4 separate regions of the Homo sapiens genome follow, and all the other regions are linked to region 1. The links are contacts of gene promoters, found by promoter capture Hi-C in blood cells and fetal thymus (Javierre and others, 2016). All regions are on one chromosome and are shown on one strand. Each heading gives the region's core, a stretch centred on a gene start or on the middle of the fragment in contact. The rest is flanking DNA. Distances are from core to core; before and after follow the strand shown. Region 1 holds the start of COMMD9 (COMM domain containing 9). Region 2 overlaps TRIM44 (tripartite motif containing 44). Region 3 has its middle 120 kb from the start of LDLRAD3. Region 4 overlaps LOC107984326 (a long non-coding RNA gene).

Region 1 (2,904 bases), core at 123-2,622:
GCAAATACCAAGGCAATATCCTCAAATAAGTCACAAAATTTCATCTTAGTCTAATCACTTTTTTGGGTGGTTGTTTATTTAACAAATATTCAATTAACCCAAGACAATGGGCCCAGCCCTATAGATACAGGCAGGAGTTAAACCTAGAACCTACATTGAGTTATAACAGAAACCAGGAATCAGGCCATGAGGGTTCATGGAAAAGAGAGGCCAAGAAAGAGAGCTAGAATCAGGACCCTGTGACAAAATGGTTCTAAAATCTTCTAATCCAGGAATGGGTTCCTCCTTAGACAATTTGATTTTTGGTTTCCTGGGCCTTGACAACATCCCCACAGAAAATGGAGTCGGGGAAGGGGAAGGGGGAGGAGAGGAGACAAAGGAACAAATGTCCTTAGCAGCTTACCAATTTCTGGAATTTCACAAATGGGCATTCTTTCTTAAGCTCGAATATATCAGAACCCATTTTTTGAGCTGGAATTTGCTTAAAAAAAAGTGGAGGGTAGGAAAAGAAAAGAGCCACCCAAATACTAAAGGTAGATAAAGGAAATGTCTGTTTTGATGTACGGTCTCTGAGAACAGGGCAAATCAGAGTCCAGTACTGCCAGTGCAAAATCACTCTTTACAATTATATTCATTATAATTACCTTTTTGAATAAATGAACTAAATCATTTCCATTAACCTCCTCCCCCATCTCACCCCCGTATAACAAGAACCTAGCTAGGTAGTAGCTTTCATTCCATTCCTCTCTTGTCCCCTCTCCCAAACACTTCCTCACCTGCTCTTGTAATCAGATCTTCTCTATGACTATGGGAAAGTTACTAAAAACCCTAAATGATTATTTCCCAATCTGGATAATACTAATAATACCAGCTCCAACCTACTACATAGGCTGAAAAACTATATACGCAGAAGTAATTTTACATTCAAGACAGGATGTGTGCATGTGTGTGTGTCAATTCCAAGAAGCCCGATATGCACAGCCTCATTTTCATTCCAAACACTGGTACGCCGATCACTCCTGAACAACTACGTTTCCAAGGCGCCTGCCAAGCTTGCAGGTGCATTCCCCAAGTGCGCCAGCCCACCCACATGGGTCAAGGGAAAACCTGTTTCCCTGACTTGGTAAGTAGACAAGTCAAGCCAATTTCCTCCCCGAGTAAACCATCCTCCGCCCTGGTCCCCCTAGTCCTTTGGTTCTAGAGTCTCGGGGTTTAGTCATCCAGCCGCCGCGTCCGTCTTGATCCGCGCTCACTGCCGCAGCACCACAACCGAAACGCCTTCCCCCACTCTGAAGGACTACAGCCCCCGGCAGGCCCCGCGACAACAGCGACAGCCACGTGACCTCGCTTCCCTGGGTGCCACGGTCATGTGACTTCGGCAAGATGGCTGCCCTGACAGCGGAGCATTTTGCAGCACTCCAGAGCCTGCTCAAGGTAAGTCGAAGGGGTGGGGACAGCGTGAGGTGGCCCTTTGTCTCCGAGACTTTAGACGGAGCAGGAATTGGGAACAAATTGACCCTGGTTTGGAGCCACAACTCTGCTGCTTGTTCTCTGTGTGATCCCAGGCAAATCGTTGCGTCTTTCTGAGCTTTTAAAAAGTAAGAACAAAATATCGTTTTGACAGGAACGTAAGATAAAAAAAAATAAAATAATGGGCATGAAGGCGCAGTACAACCTCCTGCTATTAGTCTTTGGGATTGGTTTTCGGTATTGGTGCATTGAAGTGGTAATTGCTAGACCCACGTTGTCAGTTCCCCATTTCATCCCGTAGCCCCTCCTGCATTGCACAATTAAGAAATTATCTCCTACTGCGTCTGCCCAGCCCTCCGAATGACCTGTGCGTTCAATGTTCCCTTGAGGTCCAGATTTTCCCTACTCTCTTTGACCTGCGAAAGGGGCAGGACATACTCCTGATAATCATTTGAAAAGTTGTGAGGTTGAAAGGGACCTACTTCATAGGGCTTTGTAAAGCTCAAATGAAGTATTATTATTATTTGAGACGGAGTCTAGCTCTGTTGTCCAGGCTGGAGAGCAGTGGCGCAATCTCGGCTCACTGCAACCTCCGCCCCCCGAGTTCAAGCAATTCTATGCCTCAGCCTTCCGAGTAGCTGGGATTACAGGCGCCCGCCACCAAGCCTGGCAAATTTATGTATTTTTAGTAGAGACGGGGTTTCAACATCTTGGCCAGGCTGGTCTTGAACTCCTGACCGCGTGATCCACTCGCCTCCGCCTTCCAAAGTGTTGGGATTACAGGCGTGAGCCACCGCGCCTGGCCGGAATTATTTAACTTATGATTTGCCCTGTAGGAGAAAGGGCAGCTTTATTTTCCTTCGTAGAACTTGTCGCTAGCTATTTGCCCGTTGTCCGTCTGTCTCATAAGAATGTAAGATCCATCAGGGACCTTTCCTTTCTTCCTCTCTCTTTTTTTTTTTTTTTAAACACCAGGTGAAGAGGGTTGAGTTACTCTCCTCAATTTATGGCACATCATCATCATCGGTCCATGTAATAGTCTCTGTTTTGTTTTACTTATTTATTTTTTAATTGCCTTCTCAGTGTTCATTAGCATTCTCCACTCCTAAGGGGATCTACTCTTTTGTTCACAAGTGTTAATGCCCAATAAGTAGAACAATAATACCTGGCACACAGCACGTGCTCAGTAAATAGCTGTTAAATGAATTAATAAATGAAGTAACAGAGCTGGGACTGGCAATCTAGGGCTCTCAGCTCCCAACCCAGTGCCTTTTCACCTTCATTTTGGCTGCTCTGTACCTACCCCCGCCCCTATACCTGTTGGTCTTATGCACTCTTTTCTTTTAAAAACTTTAAAAGATTAGTGTGTAGTATACATACAGAAAAGTGCATAAACCATACATTTACAGTTAAATGATTTATTACACACCAATG
Region 2 (2,904 bases), core at 185-2,684, 490 kb after region 1:
ATGCTCCTCTGAAACACCTGCCAGTCACACTTAGACTTACAACTGGAGTGGGACTCAGAGGTTAATGGCTGTTTCATTTTTTTTTTTTTTTTTAAATAAACTAAGGGTGTTAGGCAGACAGCACGTTCTATAGCAGGTACTTACCAATGAGAGAGGCAGCATTACATAATTACTTTTGTGTCACCAGACTGAACTAGGTTCAAATGCCTGTTATTAACTAATAAACTGTGGGATCTTACGTAAGTCACTAACATCTCTGAATCTCAGTTTCCTCATCGAAATGCTATCTTCCAGGGTTACTGTGAAAGCTTTATGTATTTTATGCAATACAAATGATAAAAAATGTTACCCTTCTTCCTCAACCCACCTTCCTTCTTATCCTGAATAAAAACCTGCCTCCTCCTGCCTTTCCCTCAAATGTTCCTAGCTCTGGCAGCTGAAACATTACATTCCAGAACAAGTGTGTTCCTATCCCCAAATACCCTTCAAATATCTGGAGAGCAACAGTATCCTGCTTTGCTCACTTGGAGAGTTTTTTAAATGACAACCCAGACCTAATGAAATACAGGTACTAACTAGAAAGGCTGAGTATCACTCTGACCCTTCTAGGTGGCAGGTCTCAAGAAAAGTCATGCCTGCCAAACACTGGGGAGAACAAATACGGAGTGAAGTTTAGTTAACCGGCCTTAGCTCGGTCACTGATCTAGTTTGAGGGTACTGCTGTATCTAAAAGTGGTGGCCTTAAAACTGGGGTATGGATACCCTTGTGGTATGTAATTACTTTCCAGGAAGTATTTGGGCCTGGGTAGTTTTAAGAAAATTAATGTCCAAATCCTTAACTTCCATATATACTGCTTCCTAAAACTTACCTTCTCAGAAACATGCCTGTGCTCTGTAAGGTTCTTGTTTCAGCCACTCCCACTTTACAGATCACCATACTCCCACACTTCCGCAGAAATGCTACTCTCACTCACCCTTCTGAATCTTAGCATGTAACAATTTTAGAATGTCTCCCTTAGAGGAGTCCTATGAGAGAACCGCAAGCAATAGTAAAGGAGACAATCTCTTTTTTCATTCAGGCAGGAAACTCTTGGCAAGGCTGTGTGTTTTATCTATCTATCCATCGATCTAACACTTCAAATTCAAAAGTGAGGTGGTTATCATGAGGTGTGTGCTAATGTTTATTTGTATTGAAAAAAATGAAATCAGACTTAATCTGACAGAAAGCAAGTCTGATTTGGCTGGATGGTTTGACCACCAAAATTGGCTTTGCCAATTAGATTATATAGTGCACCTTTGCTTGTAAATTTAATAAGCTAAATTCACAGTGCCAAAGTTTTGACAAAAATATATATAAAAACTCATATAAACTACACAATATGTCAGTGAGCACACCCTTAGCAACGATTTACACTTGATACTATGATTTCAGGAATTAATTTAAAAACGGGCAAAAAGGCACATACTTTTAAAATTTCTTTTAGGGGATGTAAAACAAAAAAGTTTAGCTAAAGGAACTGGGAGCTCCTAAATTCTGACCAGGAGGATGGTGTGAAATTTAACACTTTCTTGGTTGTGGGTAGGGGATGGGGTGACAGAATGAGACTAAGGCATTCCAGTAAGCAGAATGCTGTATCCCTTCTCTGAGTTGGGCTTACTGTCTGATGTGGTGCCTGTGAAACTGAAATGTCAGAGGCATGCCATAAGCTCCACATTCAGACCCTAAACACCTGCTGATAAAATGATTATATTTTATCATAATCATTTTACAGTGTTTCACTGTGACCATTTTTTAGTTAGGCTGCATATATAGGCAGCTTAGCTTTTTGGCTTCTGTCCCCAGAGCTTTAGGGGCATAAAGGGGAAGTTAATAAATCAGGTAGCAGGCATTCTGACTTTGCAAGTTTAATAGTTTCTTTTCCTAAGCATATAGTACAACTTAATGTGACTTGGCATCACTCATGTCTTCTGAGTTCTTGGTTATCTATTAATTGATTATTGCTGTAAAAGGATTATTTAACTCAGGAGGATGGTGGAATTAAGAGGTATTGACAAGGAACGAAGGCTAGAGTCAGCTGAAATTCAAAAAGATAGATTTAATATTCTCCAAAAATTACACTGCCTGGGCATTGTACAAGGAGCCAATTGGGAAGTCTCACACTTTCAGTATCTGAGGAAGTGGTTGCCTAGTTGCAGTAAATATGCGATCAGCACTGCTGGGGAGACAGACTAAACACTCGGATCCAGGGACCTTTCTTTACTAGACAGAGCGAGTTGCCTTCTTTGTCCCCTCTGTCCCACACTCACCTGCCCCAACAGCCTGAGCTGAAAATAAGGAGGTTACTGTGCTTTAAGGGATCTGAACTTTACAAAATAAAGTAAAATGTCCTTGGTCTATTTTGGGCTAACTGAGAAAAACATGATGAAAATACCAGAGTTCTAGTCCTGGTTCTGCTGTGTGACTCTAGGACCCAGTATCCTTATCTGGGAAATTAGGATGCCTTGCATTTTAAGCAAAGTTTAGGAAAACTCCAAACCAGACAAAAACTAAGAAAGCTTCCCTCCAACATATAGACTTGCTGAGCTAATTAATTTGCTCTCATTCATACAGCTGTCTCTCTTTGCTTCCTGTGCCCCTCTCTATCCCATCACCACAATCTGAAGGATGGCCTAAATGTTCCAAGTCCTTTCACCTCTTTCTGGCTGGGCCCAAATACTGGGTTGATGCCCGGTACTGAGAGGTGAAGCCAGCTGGACCTCCTGGGTCGAGTGGGAAGTTGGAGAACTTTTCTGTGTCTAGCTAAAGGATTGTAAATGCACCAATCAGCATTCTGTAAAAACGCACCAATCAGTGCTCTGTGTCTAGCTAAAGGATTGTAAACACACCAATCAGCACTCTGTAAA
Region 3 (2,904 bases), core at 198-2,697, 470 kb after region 1:
GTCGTGAGATGGGATTATACTGAGAACCAGGGTATCGTTCAACAATGTTCCTTGATCTCTTCCTCATTAGGGCTTGTGCCTCTTCAGAGTTTGGCTGGAGTGACACAAATCCACTCTTCCCAGTTAAAGATAAGTCATCCTGATTAGCTTCCCAGAGAATGTTCTGTGATTGCAGGAAGGAAAGTTGTGATTGCCAATCTGAACTTGGAGGCCTCAGTGATTTTCGGAAGCACTGTTTGCTGGGCTGAGTCAGCAGAGACAAACCTAACCTTGATTTTCTGGAGAGTGTTCTTCTACAAGGACAGATCCTCAGACACTTAGCCCGTCCCCTATTAATGAATACTGACGTCATTACCACATTTTTTGCCCTTAAAAGCAATGCTACATGATCATTCTTATGCAAAAAGCTTTGTACCTATGTCATATTTCTTTCAGGAAGATTTCTAAAAATGGGGTTGGATACCACCAAATTTCCTATCCAATAACCTGTTTTATTACTACACCAATCAAGTTATGATAATGATGCTAATATTGATAACTATTTCATTTCTTGATAACTTACTATTTGCCAGGTACGGTTTTAAGCACTTTTCACCCATTATCTTATTTGATCCTCTTATCAACCCAGTGTGGCAAGTTCTATTTTGGAGATGAGGAAATGGAGGCAAAGGGCATATAAGTTACTGGTTTAAAATGACTTAGTAAATGCCAGACCCAGGCATTCTGATCTAGAATGCCTCCCATTATTCACTCAAAGACAACTTACCTCTATTTCAAGAATAGAGAGCTTGGGCAAAAGGCAGCCACTGGGCTTAGTGAAGTTGGCCACTTCACCTGGGAAAGGAAGACAACTGGAAACATTTAATTGGAAAAGTTTTTATTGGAAATCTTGAGCCTTCATTAATAAATCTTTGATGTTGATATAAAAATCCAAGTTCAAGGTCACAAAAGGATTTCACTTCAGCTGTACCTATGCAACCTCCTTTTAAAATGCATAATTCAATCAACACAGTTCTACTTAACCTCTGCCAAACAACTGGCTGAACTGATTTTTTTTCCAGTTAAATTAACTGGTTGTCTTGGTGGTTTTGTCATGTTAGGCTGAGTATTGTGAAGTGAGATGGTGGGTTGATCCAATTCAAGGCCATACTTTGGTTGTGCATTTCTAAAAACAAAGTCACTTGATAGGTGTGAAACATCACAATGAAAACTGGGAGCCAATCAGGCAATAGCTTTTTCCAGGCATGTTTGTTGTCCATGAGCTCTTCTAGATGAAGCTCCTTTATTTCTGGGAGAGGAGTAGGAGGAAGCTGAGGAAAGGGATGAGGAAGAGACAGGAAAGAGAGCTGCCCCAGTAAGTGGGGATATTTATTCTTTATCATTGCTAAATGCTCTTGTTACCTTCTGGTGGGTCTAATAATCTCCTAAGAAAATACCACTCTTGTGTCTCTTCTTACTTGGAAGTTCATGAACTCTGTACGAGACAGCCGGTGACCACATGGGGAGTGTTGTGATCTGGGTGTCACGCATACTTTCTAGATGAGGAGTGGGCTCCTCACTAAATCACCAGCCTGATCACCACACACACAACATATGACCAGTTTGTTGGGGGAGGGGGTTGCAGTGCTGCAAAAACCTCACTAATGAGATGGACAAAACTGCACTTCCAAGAACTCCTTTCAGGGAGGTAATTGTATGGGATTGGAAGAAATAATTTGAAAGCCATTTGGAAGTGGATAGGGTGAGACCCCAAAAAGGTTAGGCTGGAATAACAACAGATGGTCCCTAAATGGTCTTCTAAAAAGAGGGCCCGGGCTTTTATTTCTGTGAGTGTGGTAAGCAGGTGGGGACACAGACTCCAGCTCCCTACCCCACACCTGCCTCCATCTTCTCTAAATAAATGTTGACCTAATATCTAAACAATAGCAGTTTGGAGGGGTGCCAAGTCATTATTCTTCCTGATATGCCTATATTTCCCTCTGGTGTTGCACACACACACCTACTCTTACTACACCTCCCACCCCCATGTTGCTGCCTGTCACACACTGATAGCCCCACAAGGCACCTGACGGTTCCTCTGATGCCTCAGGCTAACATATCAGGGAAGGCATTTGAGAATGTTTCATGGTGAACACTGTTAAGAGGCCAGATACAAACTGCCACCTTTAGTGGCCTTCCACCTCAGTTTCCCAGTCACCATTCGTTTGAGTCAAGAGGCTTCCCATGCACAAGGCTTACTGGGCACCTGAATACCCTGGTGATCAGTATATCGATGCGGTAGAGATCTTAATCAAGCAGGTCAGTGCTGTTTTATTCTTTACTATCACTCAAGAGTATGACAATAGTGAGCCTGGAATGTAACCTGGAAAAGAGAACCAGGAGGGAGGGAGGAAAGAAGAGAGAGAGAGAGAGGAAGAGAGAGAGAACCATAGCTTGTCAGCGCTGCACCCCATATTACCGACGGCACCACACTGACAAAGAAGCTTGCACTATGCTGAACGTTAATGTCTGTGCAAGTCCTGAGACAGAGAATTGCAGCCTATCAAACTCTTCCCTTTAGAATCAAGGGAGAAACCTTGGGATGTCTCCTAGAATGTTCTAATGTGGGCTCTTGAGTCACTAAACAGACATTCTCTTCTGGGATGCAGTGGTCAAATATGGAGAACTCAGCTTTCCCAATAGCCAGGTGACCTTAAGCAAATCCTTGAATCTCTTTGGGCCTTTGTTCTCTCAACAGTTAACTCAGGAAGAGTTAGATTCATCTCTAAATCAGTGTTTCCTAAAATTGTTACACAGAACTGCCAGAAAACTAGAAAATTGTTACATGAAAGCTCTACAATGCACGTGAACATATTAAAAGCTCCCAGAAATTCTACAGGGAAGAAACCTATTTAACTTTGTTTG
Region 4 (2,904 bases), core at 162-2,661, 460 kb before region 1:
TGGGTGAGTTGCTTAGCCTCTCTGGGCCCTAGTTTTCTAATCACTGGAACGGGGATAAAGATATTTATTTTGTATGGTTGTTGTAAAGGTTCAAGAACATGTGTTTAAAACACATATCCCAGTGCCTGACACTTAATGAATGGTAGCAATTGTTACCGGTAATAAATCAGCATATCTGTGCTCTCTCCTGTCACCTTCTCCCTCTCTCTCTCTCTCTCTATCTCTCTCTCAACTTGTACCTACCATAACCACACTGCTGTTTTTTGCTTTGGATGCCTACATGACCAGTTGGTCTCTCAAAAAAAATTTATCAACTAAGACCAGGTGCTGAGCAATAAACTAGGTCATATTCCAGACACCACTATTACTGTTGTCAGCAATAACTGATTTCAGCTTTCTGACATACATTTGGCTATTTTGTGTCCTGCTAACATCAGGGAGCAATCTTACATTGGGGACCCTTCCCTCCCTAATGGAAACATTTGGAGAAAGTGGGAGGAAATTGCTATAAAGTGAGCATAGAACAGAACAGCTGGAAGCGGCCTCCTAATAGGCAGTTTTTCATGTTTTGACAGGTTTGAAGCAGACTATGACAGCAAAAGGGGTACACACAGGGACAGCGTAGCAGACAGCACTTCCTGGAATGGAAGCTTCTGCAGGCTTCCAGATGTAGCTGCTGTCCTTACCCCGCGTGTTTATAGTGGCTCCAAAGTCCCCTTCCTGGGGACTCCTAGGGACATACATCATTGTCAGTTTAGCTGCCAAGTCCAGCTCCAGAAAGGCACCTGGAAAAGGCAGCACAGCTAATGAAAGCAAGGCAATCAAGAGAAAAAGACAGCTGGGCTGGGGGCCAAGGGGCCTAGGGTCTGGCTTCCATCCTTCCACTAAGTGAACTTTGGCAAGTCTTCTTTCCACTAAGGGTCTCAGTTTCCTATCAGCAAAAAGGCTGTCCTGAGCCCTCTTCCCACAAGAGGAATGCTGTCAATAAAAGCAATAAAAGGTGCTTGCTCTATTTATCTGTACTTTCTACTTTTTCTACATGTACACATATCATTTGTGGGAATGTGTATTTTCTACTTCTTAGGTGTGTGTATATGTATATATGTGTGTGTGTGTGTGTGTGCACACACACTTAAGAGGTAAAACACTAATATTAGCTTATTTTATTTAATAATTTATTTATTGTATTTATTTCTACACACACTTAGGTAGAAGAAAATTAGCTTATTTACTTATTATTTTTCTACCTCTTAAGTGTATGTGTATACACACACACACACACACACATATATAGTGTGTGTTTGTAGTCATTTGTTATGGAAGTCATAGAAAACCAAAACACAACTCTAAGAGTACACACGCACTTAAGAGGTAGAAAAATAATAAGTAAATAAGCTAATATTTACTGGGCATTTCTTACATGCCAAGGATTGTAATAAATACTTTATATTCATTATCTCATGAGAAGGAGCCAACTGGACACACCTGCTGCTATTTGCTACCCAGCATCCATTCCCCCTCTCTCCTGATAATGCTCTAAATTTCCCTATGAAAAGCAACCCCTCATTGCCATTTGCCCTCATGTGGTTTTGTGGCAATGACCTCAACCCCAGTTCCAGGGGTGGATCTTGATTGGCTTAATCAGTTTACACACCCTCTGTTCCTCACCACAGTGACTGGTTGGTTCTCTGATTGGGCCGACAAGACCTCAGCAGTACAGTCAGAAGAAACCTCAGTAATTCACCATGAATGTTGAGATCATCTCTTTCATTCCTGCAGAGCTTGAACATGGAGCACATGGCCCCATTATGTGCCAGCAGACACTTTGGGCACATCAGAAGATATCCTTCCAAGTTGAGAGCCATTAATGAGGACACAGAGCACAGAAGTAAAGAATGAGAAAACGGGCTCAAGATCCCAGACCAAGCACTGCCTTACGCTACTATGGCTCCTGGACTTTATTGCTCAAATAATTTGATTTCAATTTTTTGGTTTTGTGCAAAACCAAAACATGCCTTATCAATGTAGGCAAGTGTTATTATCAATACCATTTTATAGATTAGGAAACTGAGTCTCAGTGGAGCTAATCCACTTGCCCTAAGTTACACAGTAAGTTTGTAGTGGAAACACCATTTGAAACCAGGTCCAACTGGGTTAAAAACCCAAGCTTCTTAAGCACTATATTTTGCTACCATAGGTAGGGAAAACTGGAAATACCTTGAAAATGAGAACATTTTATAAAATGCAACCTTTCATTATTTCAGGAGTAGATTTCGAATCATCACCTCAAACCCCAATTGAAATGGTCTCGCTTTGTCACCTAGGCTGGAGTGCAGTGATGCGATCATAGCTCTCTGCAACCTCAAACTCTTGGGCTCAAGCGATCCTCCCACCTCAGCCTACCAAGTAGCTGAAGCTATACCCCTGTGCCTGGCTATTTTTTTTTTAAGAGATAGGGTCTCACTTTAATACCCAAACTGGCCTCGAACTCCTGGGCTCAAGCCATCCTCCCACCTTAGCCTCCCAAAGTACTAGTATTACAGGCATAAGAAACCATGCCTGACCTAAATTTTGAGCCACTGAGTTTGTAATAATTTGTTATGGCAGTCATAGAAAATCAATACACAACTCTAAAATAAAAGATTAAGCAAAAAAAAAAAGATTTCTTATTTTAAAAATTTGGCAAAGGAAAGCAAGCTGAGATCTTTATCTCCATAAAGGATGAAAAGGAGGTGAAGATCAGTAGCATTCCTTTTTGTAGCAAAGTAACATGAGGAAAAATTGGCCCTAAAAGTCCAGAGTAATCTGAACTAGATATAAGGAGGAATTTGCTACCAAAGTTGGTAAGAACTGAAATTCACTTCCAAAGGTGATTGTGCAAAAGTCCCTTGATTGGCTTCCTGA

The links. Contacts are between HindIII fragments. The CHiCAGO score rates a contact against its expected background, and 5 or more counts as called.
Region 2: a contact is called between a fragment that was not itself captured here and the fragment with the promoter of COMMD9 in region 1, in 1 of 17 cell types (M0 macrophages). The highest score is 6.0, in M0 macrophages.
Region 3: a contact is called between a fragment that was not itself captured here and the fragment with the promoter of COMMD9 in region 1, in 3 of 17 cell types (erythroblasts, M2 macrophages and M1 macrophages). The highest score is 6.7, in erythroblasts.
Region 4: a fragment that was not itself captured here is called in contact with the fragment with the promoter of COMMD9 in region 1 in 1 of 17 cell types (fetal thymus); the score reaches 5.4 in fetal thymus.

What each region holds. Positions count from the first base shown.
Region 1 is chr11:36,287,892-36,290,795 of GRCh38, reverse strand. COMMD9 (COMM domain containing 9) reads left to right here and starts at 1,372. Exons shown (of 6, transcript NM_014186.4): 1 at 1,372-1,434. The coding sequence starts at 1,384. RefSeq lists enhancers at 1,222-1,471, 1,308-2,010. The HindIII fragment of the contact is 8,947 bases long and covers 1,055-2,904 here.
Region 2 is chr11:35,800,462-35,803,365 of GRCh38, reverse strand. The region is part of intron 4 of TRIM44 (tripartite motif containing 44); the gene reads right to left. Among named protein-coding and RNA genes, the nearest start is that of TRIM44, 140 kb to the right of the region's middle. The HindIII fragment of the contact is 2,248 bases long and covers 311-2,558 here.
Region 3 is chr11:35,818,112-35,821,015 of GRCh38, reverse strand. No RefSeq gene overlaps it. Among named protein-coding and RNA genes, the nearest start is that of LDLRAD3, 120 kb to the left of the region's middle. The HindIII fragment of the contact is 2,076 bases long and covers 410-2,485 here.
Region 4 is chr11:36,749,308-36,752,211 of GRCh38, reverse strand. The region is part of intron 3 of LOC107984326 (a long non-coding RNA gene); the gene reads right to left. Among named protein-coding and RNA genes, the nearest start is that of RAG2, 150 kb to the right of the region's middle. RefSeq lists an enhancer at 1,318-1,888. The HindIII fragment of the contact is 1,517 bases long and covers 653-2,169 here.